Linked DNA regions of Homo sapiens: all the other regions are linked to region 5. Evidence: promoter capture Hi-C in 16 types of primary human blood cells and fetal thymus (Javierre and others, 2016). All regions are on one chromosome and are shown on one strand. Each heading gives the region's core, a stretch centred on a gene start or on the middle of the fragment in contact. The rest is flanking DNA. Distances are from core to core; before and after follow the strand shown. Region 1 has its middle 280 kb from the start of NR5A2. Region 2 has its middle 360 kb from the start of NR5A2. Region 3 has its middle 330 kb from the start of NR5A2. Region 4 has its middle 300 kb from the start of NR5A2. Region 5 holds the start of NR5A2 (nuclear receptor subfamily 5 group A member 2).

Evidence for each region. The method cuts DNA at HindIII sites, captures the fragments that hold promoters and counts their contacts. A CHiCAGO score of 5 or more calls a contact.
Region 1: a fragment that was not itself captured here is called in contact with the fragment with the promoter of NR5A2 in region 5 in 1 of 17 cell types (M1 macrophages); the score reaches 5.2 in M1 macrophages.
Region 2: a fragment that was not itself captured here is called in contact with the fragment with the promoter of NR5A2 in region 5 in 1 of 17 cell types (M1 macrophages); the score reaches 5.1 in M1 macrophages.
Region 3: a fragment that was not itself captured here is called in contact with the fragment with the promoter of NR5A2 in region 5 in 9 of 17 cell types (monocytes, M2 macrophages, M0 macrophages and 6 more); the score reaches 10.0 in monocytes.
Region 4: a fragment that was not itself captured here is called in contact with the fragment with the promoter of NR5A2 in region 5 in 1 of 17 cell types (endothelial precursors); the score reaches 5.2 in endothelial precursors.

What each region holds. Positions count from the first base shown.
Region 1 is chr1:199,750,342-199,753,041 of GRCh38, reverse strand. It overlaps the pseudogene RIDAP1. Among named protein-coding and RNA genes, the nearest start is that of NR5A2, 280 kb to the left of the region's middle. The HindIII fragment of the contact is 3,745 bases long and covers 1-2,700 here.
Region 2 is chr1:199,662,240-199,664,939 of GRCh38, reverse strand. No RefSeq gene overlaps it. Among named protein-coding and RNA genes, the nearest start is that of NR5A2, 360 kb to the left of the region's middle. The HindIII fragment of the contact is 1,662 bases long and covers 568-2,229 here.
Region 3 is chr1:199,701,276-199,703,975 of GRCh38, reverse strand. No RefSeq gene overlaps it. Among named protein-coding and RNA genes, the nearest start is that of NR5A2, 330 kb to the left of the region's middle. The HindIII fragment of the contact is 2,167 bases long and covers 196-2,362 here.
Region 4 is chr1:199,721,400-199,724,099 of GRCh38, reverse strand. No RefSeq gene overlaps it. Among named protein-coding and RNA genes, the nearest start is that of NR5A2, 300 kb to the left of the region's middle. The HindIII fragment of the contact is 1,610 bases long and covers 531-2,140 here.
Region 5 is chr1:200,026,400-200,029,099 of GRCh38, reverse strand. It overlaps NR5A2 (nuclear receptor subfamily 5 group A member 2), which reads right to left and starts at 1,390. Exons shown (of 8, transcript NM_205860.3): 1 at 1,189-1,390. The coding sequence starts at 1,252. The HindIII fragment of the contact is 3,447 bases long and covers 1-1,944 here.

The DNA of each region.
Region 1 (2,700 bases), core at 107-2,606, 280 kb after region 5:
AGCTCTCCATATTCTATGGTATTTCCATAATAACTTCAGATATTTTAGTCAAACTCACATTTTCATCAGTTCTAAAAATTAAGATGTTATATCAATTGTAAAAGTCAAGATGTGAAAAATTTCAGACTAAATAACACCGGGCCACTTATAGTCATGCCGTTGTGAGAGGTGCTTGGTCAGTTACTTCCTCAATTTCAGCTTGGCCTCCTTTGGGCAAAGCAGCAACCAGGTAAGCAGCACTTGCAGGAAAACTACTCTTGAAGTACTGTTTGTAGATTTCATTGACAGTAGGGAAGTCATTTATGTCAGCCAACAAAACAGTTGTTTTTACTGCATTAGTGAAGTCACAGCCTGCAGCTTTCAGAATTTTACTCATGTTCTTGCTTAGCTTCTTTTGCTAAACAAGCCCTCTTGGCACAAGCTGTCCACTTAAAGGGTTCATGCTTATCTGTCCTGAAATGTAAGTTTGTCCTGACTAACACAGCTTGACTGTAGGGCCCAATGGCCGCTGGGGCTTTCGTGGTGCTGATCGCCTTTCTGATTAAGGATGACCTGGCTAACCCTTCTCTCTTGTGGCCCCTCCAGGAGAACTCCCTGTACAATTCCTGCTTGCTTCTTGCCTGACTGACCTATTCACTGTTCTGAAAAGATTGTAGTGGCTCTGCTTGCAAGATGTGCAGAAACATGAGAGACCCTCCAACAGTGGACAGAGAGGAGATAGTCATATTTATACTGAAATATTTATGTGAACTACAAAGTATATTGAACTCAGGCAAATCTCAGTTTTGACTAGTGATTTACATCAGTGATACTGGTTCCCAGTATCAGTTTCTGCAGTCTTGTGAAAGAGCATGAACTCCGTATTACCTGGTGGACTGACCCAGTGCCATGTGAGCAATGTGGATCATGAGCAATGTGTGGATCAGGATTCACTTTTCCACTCTATGTCTCACTGTCTGTGTCACTTGGACTGATTGCATAGATTCTCTAAATCTGTTTCTTATAAACTGGGAGTAATAAAACCTGTCTGATGGAGTTATTGGAAGATTAAATAAATAACATTTATAAAATACTTAGCATAAAGTCTAGATACAATAAGCATTCAATAAAGGGTAGATAGTTTTGTTTACTATCATAGGTGTCATAGACTCTGCTTTTAAATTTAATCCTTATAACAACACTGTAATATGATCTTCATTTTATAAATTAGGAAATGGAGACTCAGAGATTTGTCTGAGGTTACCGGCTAATAGGAAGTAGAGCCACAATTCTAACACAGTTCAGTCAGTGTCAAAGTTCACATCATGTACTACCCAGTAGACTTTAGGGGTGAATCTCTCTACTTCCCAGTCGAATTTCCTCATTTAGAATCCACCTCTGCGAGTGCGATGGCTCATGCTTGTAATCCCAGCACTCTGGGAGGCCAAGGAGGGCAGATTGCTTGAACTCAGGAGTTTGAGACCAGCTTGGGCAACATGGAGTAACCCCATCTCTACAAAAAATACAAAAATTAGCCAGGCTTGGTGGTGTGCGTCTGTAGTCCCAGCTACTTGGGAGGCTGAAGTGGGAGGATCTCCTGAGCCCAGGGAGATGGAGGCTGAAGTGAGCCGATAGTGCCACTGCACTCCAGCCTGGGTGACGAGAGTGAGACCCCCATCCCAAAACAACAACAACAAACAGACAAAACCCCCAAATCTGCCTTTGCCATTTATTATCTGTTTGATTTTGAATAAAATCCTTTATATAAAAAATGGGGATAATAACAGCACCTACCAGGTAAGGTGGTTATCAGGATGAAATGAAATAATATCTGCATAATGCCTGACAAATAGTAATAAAAACACATTTATTGATATTATTATTAGTTTTTATTACTATTATTGTGACAGTAACACGGAGGCAAGCAACATTACTTATTCCAGATGACCATTCACCTTCCCAGAAACCTGGGCTGCAGTGTTTATAGCCTTCTGTGATGTAAATTTCCTATAAGCTATATATTACAATAGTTTTGAGGATCAATAAAGACATTGATTATAAAGTATGGTGAATGCTTCATACATAACCTTAGATTTGATTACAGGAAAGAGGAAAACATAATGTTACATTAGTATAAAGATAAATTTGCTTTTCTATTTTCTTTTCCATTCCCCTAATAATTTTGGTAAAATATACAGCAGTGCATATTGACCCCAAAAATGAATAAAACATCACTTAATTTACTTTAGCTCATACATTGGTTGTATGGGTTAACTCACCTTACATACATTTTATACAGTACTTAACATATATTTTAGAGAAAACATTAGCAATATGACTTTTCATTAATGCTTAGTAAATATTTGCCAATGCACTATATAATTTTAATTTTGATAAAAATAGCATTGTGGACAAGTCAATGGGACCAAAAATACCATCTTCATGATTCTTTAGCTTCTAAAGACAAATTGCTACATTTAAAGGTTATGCCAAATTTGAAAAGCAACATAGGATAGTGGGAAAGACCACGGATTCTACAGCCAGCATTCCTGGGTTTGAATCCCAGCTTTGGTACTTAACTACTTGTGTGAACATGGGCAAGCCCCTTAAGCTATTGGAGGCTCATCTCCTTATCCAGAAAATGGGGACGATAAAAGTATATACCTAATAGAGTTGTTGGCAGGGTCTGGGAGTGCATGAAGTAATATACATGAAATGCTT
Region 2 (2,700 bases), core at 149-2,648, 360 kb after region 5:
AAAATGCTCTGTAGATGTTATCTCAATTAAGACCACCAGTTAAAGAAGGAAAAAAGATACTTCTTAAAAGAGAAAACTAAATGATAAAACATTTGAAATAATGTCTTAATATTTTAGTATCTCTGAAACTTAGGATAGTGCAATGCACAGAGCAGATATTTAATAAACATGCATTGAAGATAAGAAAAGCAAATCCACATAAGAAATGCCTGGTCATTGAACAAGTTAATACTGATCTAAAAAGTTAATACTGATTATGAAAGTAGATTATCCTACTATAATTTAAGTTCTTTGATTTTTGAAAACAAGAATTTGTTAATCTTTTTTTGCAAAAACATATTAATGCTTTTTAGCTACATCTACTTCTAGGACATGAAAACCCACAGTGATTCCTTGTTGTGCCTGCAACAAGCCCTATGGATGAGCTAAGCTCTCTAGTACACTGTGCTTAGCTGAAAAGGAAGCAGGTGATGAAGAGATTGAGGCATAAGAGGAACATCAATCTCCCCCACCCCCATAGTTAGAAAATCCATTTTTTACACACTGATTTAATTATAGACCAAAGCTTTAATTGTAAGTCTATCTTCAATCAATTTCTTCACCTACTTATTGGTGGCCCGTCATGATGCAGGCTGCAGTACATGGTGGCATGGTAGTTAGGTGGCCTGCCTGAGGATGAGCCTCACTTATTTGTTTTACTATCTGGGTGACTTTGGGCTACTTGTTCAACTATTTTGTCTTATTCTCCTTATCTGTAAAATGAGGACAATGATAATGCCTATATCACCCAGTAGGATTAAGTGAGTTATACTATGCAAAGCATGCCAGTCCTGCTGGGGCGTAGTAAGTGGTATATCTGTGTTTGTCAAATTAAACAATTGCAAACTGAGAATAATTATATTATGCAGCTCTCATGTTTTGAAGGTTGATAAAAGAATTAAAGTATAAATTTCTACATACTTGTCTGATAGCATGATTTTTAGTATATTATTGTTATTATATGTAAAATATAATGCTGGGCTGGCTGTAAGTGATCTAGACAACAGTTCCTGTGCTCAGGGAGACTGTCCTATAGAAAGTGCAGTGTGGTCACTCATGTATTTCTCTTGTCCAAGAGAGACAATGGAAGGGCTTCAGGAAAGTAACAGAACCTGGCCCTTCAGAGATTACCTGGAATCAGATTAAGTAAAGATGTACTATGGGAGGCAGTATTTGGAATGGGTCTTAACAGATAGATTTTGAGGAGAAACCAGGTGGAAAGTATTTCATTTTAGGAGAGTTATACACACAAATATGCATATATTGTGAATTTGATTTTAGAAATAATGAAGAGTTACTAACAGTTGTTTTAGATTTAGGATTATCTTGATTGTATTTAAAATTAGAGAGGGAATTGGGTTATGTATAGGTAGAGATTTATGTAGTTTATACAAGCTGAGTTACCCAGAGCCCAGGATAGGGACTCAAATATTTATTGACTGCCTATAATCATGCCACACTAGTAAATACTGAAATTATAATGATAAATATTATGTATTGTTTTCTTACTAGATAACGAGCAGAGTGTTAGCAAGTTTACGTATATTTTATCATTTTTCCCCATGATAATCTCACAAAGATAGATACCAGTATTGTCTAAATTTTATGACTGAGGAAACCACTGAGCCTTAGAGGGGTTAAGTAACTTGTTCATAGTGACAAAACTAGTAAGTAATGTAACCAGAATTTTCTTACTGGAGGACAAGTTACTATTAATAATTTTAATATGCTGTGTCACAAAAGGCATAAAGCTATAAAGACATTTTAGTTGAGATGATAGCACTGGGCAGAAGGATATGGTGTTGATGCATAGCTTTAAATAATGTCAAAACAGAACAGAAGTTGATATGAAAGATATTTGTTTGGTGGAGAGGATAGATGGGGTAGAGATTGTGGGGGACTAGAGAGGGATTTTCTGGGATGCTGTTGATGTTCTGTTTCTTGATCTGCACATGTCACATGAACATGTTAAATGCTTTTCATTAAGCTGTTCACTTAGGATTAATAACTTTTCTGGATGGATTTTTATACTTCACTTAAAGGGTTTATAAAGAAATACATGTTTGATGTCCAGGTTTGCTAAAGAGGCTCACTAAAATCAGTTAAGAAACATTAAGAAAACTCACAGAAACATACACACACACACAATTTTTGTCTACAACTCCATCTCTGCTTTACCCAGGAGAAGCTTAACTTCGGATCAGGAGATGTGAACAGCAAATCTCTTCAAACTTTTAAAAATGGAAATGATATAACATATCTTCCACAGGGTGAAAGTGTAGATCAAATGAGATTTAATGAGACAACATAGAAATAAGATTCCCGGTGTGCATCCTGCAAATGTCCTTTCGTGAAGATCACAAGAATAGGCTCTTGAATACTAGTAGGTGGAGCATTCATGTTAGAAAATTATTTCAAAATTCCCCTTTAGGATAAAATACATAATTTATGCTTCATCTCCTCCTGTGCCTCTATATTAAATATTCATTGTCTTTGACCCATACGTTGTTATTGCTTTAAAAAATTCAGTAAAATATTATCACCTGGAAGGGCATTGGAGTATAAAATCCAAACAAAACTGGTACCTCTGCACTTGTAGAAAACTATGAAATATAATATAGCACATATGATATACATATTTGTTGATTCATTCCAAGAAAA
Region 3 (2,700 bases), core at 30-2,529, 330 kb after region 5:
TAGAATTTGATTAGAAAATAGGGAGAAAAGAAATAGACTTGTGGGTTAAATAGATTCTTGCTTACAAGTTTAGAGATTATTTTAATCATAGGGTAGTTTCATGTGAACCGGGTTTTGAAGTTTCAGAAAAAAAGCATTTTCCTGTATTAAACATCATTAAAAGTTTTCTGAAAATGTATTGGTGACTCAAAAGCTTTCCTGATGAGTAAATAACCTTTACCATTTTTTCTCTTTGATAATTTGAAGGTAAATAATTAGGCACATATAAAGTTCTCTTTTAAATAAATTGAATATTTGGATTTAAATATTAGAAGAAAAAGGTCTTCTTAGCAGGTGTTATGCATTTGCTGAAGATCGATCATTCAAGAAAGAGTTCAAGAGATTTGCTGAAGCTGAGATGGTCAGAGGTAGCCATTTTGAGGTATGAGATTACTGAAGATATAACACCCCTGGGAACAGAGGCTCTAATTTAAGTGAAAAACAAACAACATAGAATATGAAACAAAATTGAATCTTGCATTGAATATAATTAGAATTGAATTTATAGTAAAATCCTGCTAAATATTATATGATTAGGGTTTATTGTTTGCAAATGGAAGTTACCTTTACAAAGCTGAATATGTTCTCCCTTTTGCTGGGCAACTTCTGGGTTTCAGTTGTAAGTGAGTATTCAAGGAGACCTGACAGCATGGGATGTAACCTGCCATGACAAACAGCTAATGAGGATTGCCTTCTACGGCACTCGATTTTCTCTAGAATTATTGTTATGCTGTCTATGCTGGAATCAGTGATGCTATTAGTGTCCTATTTCTCTGAGTTGCTGCAGTTGCAGATTAAGTTTTTAAGTTGTAATTAATCTTGATATGTATTTTATGTAAAAAAGTATAGTGATTCAATGTTTGCTTTTCAATCTACTTTTTTTCTATCCCAGTAGGTATTCTAGTATCAAGCATAAGATCTTGATTAAAAAGAACGCTCCAGAAAATGAAAGTATAAATTCTTTAGTGCATTTTAAATCAACAGTTGCATAAAATCTCCACTCAGAAACTTTTGAGACTCTGTGAGTAAAAGAATTTGGTTTGCGTGTAGCTGAAGTGATTGAGGCCTATCCTGTTTTCTAAATTCATGTGTAGATATCCTTTCTAGGCAAAGGAGATAAAATAGGAGTCACCAAAAAGACTCACGTTGTGGTGCTTGCTGATTGGGGGGTCCTTAAAGCTAAGGCATTAAAACAGTTCTGATATAATTGAAATGATATGTATCACCAGCCTTACCTCTCCTTGCTCATGTCTCATTGTTGATCTTAAGAGCCTTTTGAGAATGTGGCTGCTTGTAATGTAAGAGATAGGCATTTCTAATTTTGGAGATTTAAAAAAATACTACTTGGCCAGATCATTATAATGTGAACTTGAAATTGATACTCTTCAACAATCTTTCTACACAGAACCAAATATAACACTTTGAAGGCCAGAGAAAGATTTCACTAGTGACCTTCATCAATACTTGGGAGAATAATTAAAGGAGTAGCTGTTAATAGAAATACTGGTCATTTCTGCATAACACAATATAACAGGCCAACCCAATAAAGAGAAAGAAGCTCAAGAATATCTGCAGATCAGGTCAGAGATGCCAATTTCTTAGTAGGGTCTGTAGAGTTATAAAAGTGACTTGTTTAAATATTTAGGAAAATGAATTAAAGATTCAACAAGAATAAAGACCACCTAGAGAGATTTTATACTACAAATTCATTAGCATAATTTTTATTACCTGTCTGTCAGAGCAGTTCACATCATTGCTATTAGATGATCTTGAACATTTACAGAAAATCGAAGCCTGGGAATTGTTTAATATTCTGGGGATTGAACTAAAGATACCCAGGATACCAAAATATTTGCCACAGTACACGTACATGCCCATAAGTAAGAGATAGACTCTGATTGGACTGTGTTAAGAATTCCATTATATTGTCTCCCAAAGACCTTTATAAAGTGCATTGAGACTTCCATGCATTTTTCAAGATTACAAATTCCTACCAATGATGTTGAAAGCTGTGTTGTAAATGTACTGTGACTTCTCCAAAAAAAATGCTTGCCCTCACTTCCCTAAGTTAATAAGCAAAAAGTCCTTTGAGAAAGGATACAAAGAATCCTTATCGAAAGCATTTGTGCCATTATAAAAGTCTGATTTTAGGAAACTCTCAAAAGACTTCCCAAACTTTTGTCTACTCTTCTGAGGCTCTGTTGGTTTCTGGGGGAAAATTATTATCATTCTCACTGAATTTGGCTCTTGTACCAATTTACTTGAAATGGAAATACTTCCATTTCTTAGTAAAAATACAGAAAATCACCAAATCAAACAAGCTTTCCTCAGAACAATTATATATATATCAATATGCCAATTGTGTTGGTACTGAAGTCTAGTGAACATTAAAGTAAAACTAAGTACAGCTTCAGAATATATTTAAATTTTTTAATAAAAACATAATAATTTAAAATAATTGTAGTCTTACAGGTTTGTAAAAAATAGTACAGAAAGTTTCTGCATAACTTTTGCCCAGATTCGTCTGATTTTAACCTTTCATATAAACTTAGAAAAATTATCAAAATAAAGAAATTATAATTAGTAACAATGCTATTAACTAAACTGTGGACTTTATTCAGATTTCATCAGTTTTTCCACTATCATCCATGTTTCTAGTTT
Region 4 (2,700 bases), core at 86-2,585, 300 kb after region 5:
CCAATTGGAGTTAACTCAGGCTACATCAGGGGAAAGCAGGATAGTCAGAAGGAGGTTGCTAGGGTATTAGGCCATTTCCAAATGAGACGTGAGTCAAAATCAGCTTCATTTTTCTCTATAGACTAAATTTAATTTCAAATTTATAAATGCACTCAAATTTCTGAGACTTTGGTTGTGCACTAATTTATATTAACTTACCAGTAGCAGATCCACAGAAAAATCCCAAAGGTCAAGCATCAACCTATAGTGGCAGAATTCTCAACTCCTTCACATAGGCTATGATCCAGAGGAAAGCAGGATTAGCAGGGCTGCCTCTTTACACATGAAAACTTGGTCTGAGATTTCTCTGAGATGACTAATATGAATTAGTTATGTAACCGTTTCAAAGTAGCCTGAAAAAATTAAATTCAGATGAAGTTATTATGCAGGCTTAACAGCCTTCTGAGAGCCCAGGCCGGAGGCTAAGAAAATAAAAGTGGACCTTATTTGTATTTAATCAACAAATGAATTAATTAGCTCCTTAAAAAGCTTTAAAATTGTCATGTTTAACTAGACTTGCTCAGTTAGAATTGGAGAGGCTATTTTGTGAGTGAATTACAGTCAGTATCCTGTGAAAATAGAAGTCCGATATCATACACATGTAGATTTTTTATTCTCTCTTCCTGTTTATCTGTCTGAGCAACTTGCTGCTTTTCATTGTTCAACAAAGGATACATATTCAATAAAGGAGACATTCTGTAGCTAAGTGTGGCTTTTTTCTTTTTTTTCTTTTTGGTTGATCTGTGGCCCCTTTGATAAAGGGCAGAGGGGAGACAGAATAGGAGAGACTCCTCATCGGTGGTATCACAATGCTGGGTGAAAATTCACAAACTCACAGAGGGGGTCTCCAAGAGTCTCTCGGAAATGTGAACGTAATCATTTATTGTCATGGACACAACGTCATTAATGTGTCAATAAGACAGCATTACAATATAGATTATTTTTGTTTTGATTGTGGATTTTGCAGTATAAGTATACAATGATACTCAAAGTAATGAACTTTAAACCATGAAGGTGTTTTTATATAGAACTAAAATGTACATTGTTTAACATATACTTAATGAAATTTATAAATGCCATTGTAATAACTTATAAATTAGTGTAAATTAAACACTATGTGGTGGGAATCACCACAGAATCTTAGAGGCTAACTGGGTTCAAATAGCTCTCATTTTCTTGGAGTCCCAGAGAAGATAAATTTTTGCCTGAGAATGCACAGCTGCTAAAAGGCTTACACCTCCTCTCCTCCAACAAACCACCTCTTGTTGTTCTTTATATGATGTAACATTACCCAAGTTCTGAAGTAAATGTTTTTAATTAGAATATAAGATTCCCCACCCCACTTTGTGTGGGAAGCTGAATTAGATAATTTCTACAATTTTTTCAAAATAAAAAAACGAAATTGTGAAAATTTTACACAGTCACATTGTCACTATGTAGATTTTTCTTCATAATCCAACAACATTTTCCAAATAACCTGTTCTATTTCATCCTCACTTCCACCATGACTGCCACTCAGGTATATTTTGTGTGTACTTTTTTGGGTAAAATTTTTATATTACTCTTCCACAACAGGGGCTACTTTGACCTCAAATACCTTTTTATGATCTGAGGTGTGAACTTGTCTGTCTCCATCTTACAAATCTTCTCCTAGGAGCCTCTGCCCACAAATGAGAAGTTTTTGAGCAGATCCCAGGTTTTCTCTTTCTTTTTTCCCTACCTTGATCTACGGATTCATTGAGCTCTAGGGCATTCGAAAGAGAAGGAAAGCTGCGTGATAAAATATGAAGGTGAAGCTGAGAGTTACAATGCAGACTCTGCTGTAGGAGAAGCAAGACCCTTGTCCGGATGGCCCCTGGAGCGGCGAGTTAGCATGAAGAAGCAAACTGGGGAATAACGGGGAAAGGGAGGGGTTAAGATTTGCTTCATAAAAGGATTTAGGGAGCCTCTCTTTATGATTTTGCTCCTCTAGTTCCCTAAAAGAAGCAATGCTTGTCTACTTTGCTTTCTGAAGTCAGAAAGGAATGCTTGATTTCTCAGCAGAACTATGGTTTGTTTTTCCTCTCTAAATACTGGCACCGTTTTAAAAGAAAGCAAAGCTTTTTATTTCACAGAATTAAAAGTCTTAACACATCTAGAAGAGTTTAACATCTTAGTATAAAGGGATACGTGTGGGAAAGTAAATACAGGTATCAGATTTGTCCTAGTTTTGATAGGGGCAAGGCTCTGGGAACAGAGAGGCACAGCTCTTCTGCAGTGAGAGGAGAAGGTACCATTCTGGGAAGCGTGGAGCAGGAATAAGACAAGGCCATCAAAGACCGATTCCCTTATTTTATGATTTGCTTGGAGCTGTTGTAACTATCTTCATCTGAGTACAGACAAAGCTGTGTGCAAAGGTTTTACAGCTCTTGACCTTACTCAATATCCACACCTAGGTGAGAATCATGAAGCATTTTGTAACACCCTTAGCATTTTGCCATCTTTCAAAATGCACCTTTGAGTCTTTTACTTTATTTTCTCAAAACGTAATCTTCCCCAGCTCTACCCAGCACATTTAAATCATGATAGGACAGATGACTGTAAAGATAATTAACCTTTGCTAAGGTTTCACTTAGAAGACTCTCCTTGATGCTTTATTTTTCTAAGATTGACCATTAGCTA
Region 5 (2,700 bases), core at 141-2,640:
CGAAAAAGATGCGAAATGGTTGTGTGCTGCTCTCTCATCTTTCTTGTGCCTGTATTTTCTGTGTTATCTGCAGAACAATTGATTGTGTGTTACACCCTGCTTACCTTCCCCATGTTTTCTTTTTCGTAAGTATAGAACATTTTTGGTAAACATTTCCTCAAGTGATATACTTTAGGGTGTAGTTGGCCCATAAAAAAAGCAATCTGTGACTCCACTGCATTCTGTGGAGTCAGCTGACTAGGAAGGAAAAAAGAGGAAAAACTCAAGCCTTGATTTTCTTTCTTGTTATAATGGAGCTGAGACTCAGAGAGCTCATGACAGGCCCCTGCAAATTCGGAGGGAAATTCCAGTCTGAAAGCCTAGGCAAATGCTGCCAGAAAAGGCACAGGTCCTTCAAAAACTGGGGAAAGGCAGAAGGGCCTGACTTCCAACAGACAAATAATTACAGATCACTGGGAATCACTTCCCTTCAGTCCTTTACTTTTAGAATTAATTGAATGTAGTCTTGCTATAAAATTCATAAGTTTGTAACTCTATTTTTTAAATGAATAGTAGCTTTATTTACTTATTTCTGTTTGTAAAAACAAAATATACTAATTGTTGCGAGAAACAGTAGCTCTTCAAATCCTTTACTAATGATGGTCTAGTTTTTTTGGTTTTTTTTTTTTTTTTTTGGAGGTGGGGGCATGACTTTCATTCCCCAGGAAAATAAAATGAAAATTTTTTACGGTATAAGCAGAGAATAAGACACCATACTTTTGTGTGGGTTGAAAAGTAACAAATACTTGACAGCTATCTGTTAAAGTTTGATCAATGATCACTCAATATGATTAACTTGTTTCAAATTGTTCAAATTTTAGCTTATTATTTCTGATTAAAAATTATCAGAAAATATTAAAGTTGAAATTGATAAAGTATAAATTATATTTTCTGGCTGATTAGGGTATTAGAATGACACCAGTAAACACTAGATATAATGAATAATATTCATATGTTGAAATATCCATTTGCTTTTTTTGAACTGCAAGAAAGATAAATGTGTGATATATATACATAGGCTTATTGTGTGCTTTTAATAAACATAATAGGAAAAGCCATGACTTAAAATGCAAAATCCATCAACAAGATTAAATTATATGTATGTAGTAGCAGAATAAATAGATGATCAATAGAGAAACTCCTACTTACCAATAGGTGTAAGTCCGTGCTTTAAAGACTCTTGTAAATCCCCAGTATCTGAATTAGAAGACATTCTTAGTGAAATTATAGGCAGTTCTTTGGCTTAAAGCAGAAATCATTGAGCAAAAGAAAAGTGCAGCTTGTCAAATTTCGTGGCCTTGGGAAGGACACATCAGACTACAGTAACCCTTAGTGAAAGTTAAGAAAAAGCAAAGGAAAAAAAAAAATCCAGAATTCATAAAGTTACAAGCAAGTCTTTCCCTGGACTCTGTACTTTTTCCAACATTAGTGACCTGCTGTAAACCATGTATCCAGTTTCATGATGGTTTCTAATCAGAAGAATGGAAACTTTTGATAGGCTTTGACTCATCACATGACTCTATGCAGGTTGATAAGAGGACCCTGTTATAAAGTGACAGCAAAAGAGATAAGAATTCTTGCCAGATAATGGCAAAGAAATGATTAACTCAGAAGTGGAGAGGTGCTATGCAGCACAGAGAGTGGAAAGTTGTAAAACTGAGGGGTCAGAAGATCAGACTTAGTGGATAAAAACTGCAAACCAGCTAACTAACTTAGGCTAACTAAACTTTGGCTTGTGACATACCCCTTGATGTCATCACCTCTTTGCATAGAGGAGGACAGACATAGCTCTTCTGACCTCTGTAAATACATTTTAGATGATAACATTGGCAGACATTAATTCTTTAAGTGATGACTACAAATGTGATCGACACTCTGAAATACTACAGGTAGCATTTCCAAGCTTATGGTTATTTATTTATTCATGTTGTGGTCAACCAACTTTTTTATCGGGCCTATTCATTAGATGAGGAGTTAACCTTAGCTTGTTTCTACATTGGTCATATGGCTAAAACACAATCTATCTCTTTATCCCCAAAAGGTAAAACTTATGCTTTGAGATTAATGCTGGCAAAATGGTGAATATGTAACACATTTTTCATAGTTATAAAGTTATTATTCTTAGGCTGGGCATGGTGGCTCACACCTGTAATCCCAGCACTTTGGGAAGCCAAGGCAGGCGGATCACCTGAGGTCAGGAGTTCGAGACCAGCCTGGCCAACATGGTGAAACCTCCATCTCTACTAAAAATGCAAAAATTAGCTGGGTGTGATGGTGCACTCCTGTAATCCCAGCTACTTGGGAGGCTGAGGCGGGAGAATTGCTTGAACCTGGGAGGCAGAGGTTGCAATGAGACGCTGTTGCACTTCTCTCTGCAACCCTGGAAGAACACAATCCAAGATCATGCCACCGCACTCCAGCCTGGGCAACAGAGTGAGACTCTGTCTTCAAAAACAACAATAACAACAAAATAACAATTTTTTTTTTTTGAGATGGGTTCTCGCTCTGTTGCCCAGGCTGGAGTGCAGTGGCACGATCTCGGCTCACTGCAGCTTCTGTCTCCCGGGTTCAAGCAATTCTCCCGCCTCAGCCTCCCCAGTAGCTGGGATTACAGGGGCACACCACCATGCCCGGCTAATTTTTGCATTTTTAGTCAAGACG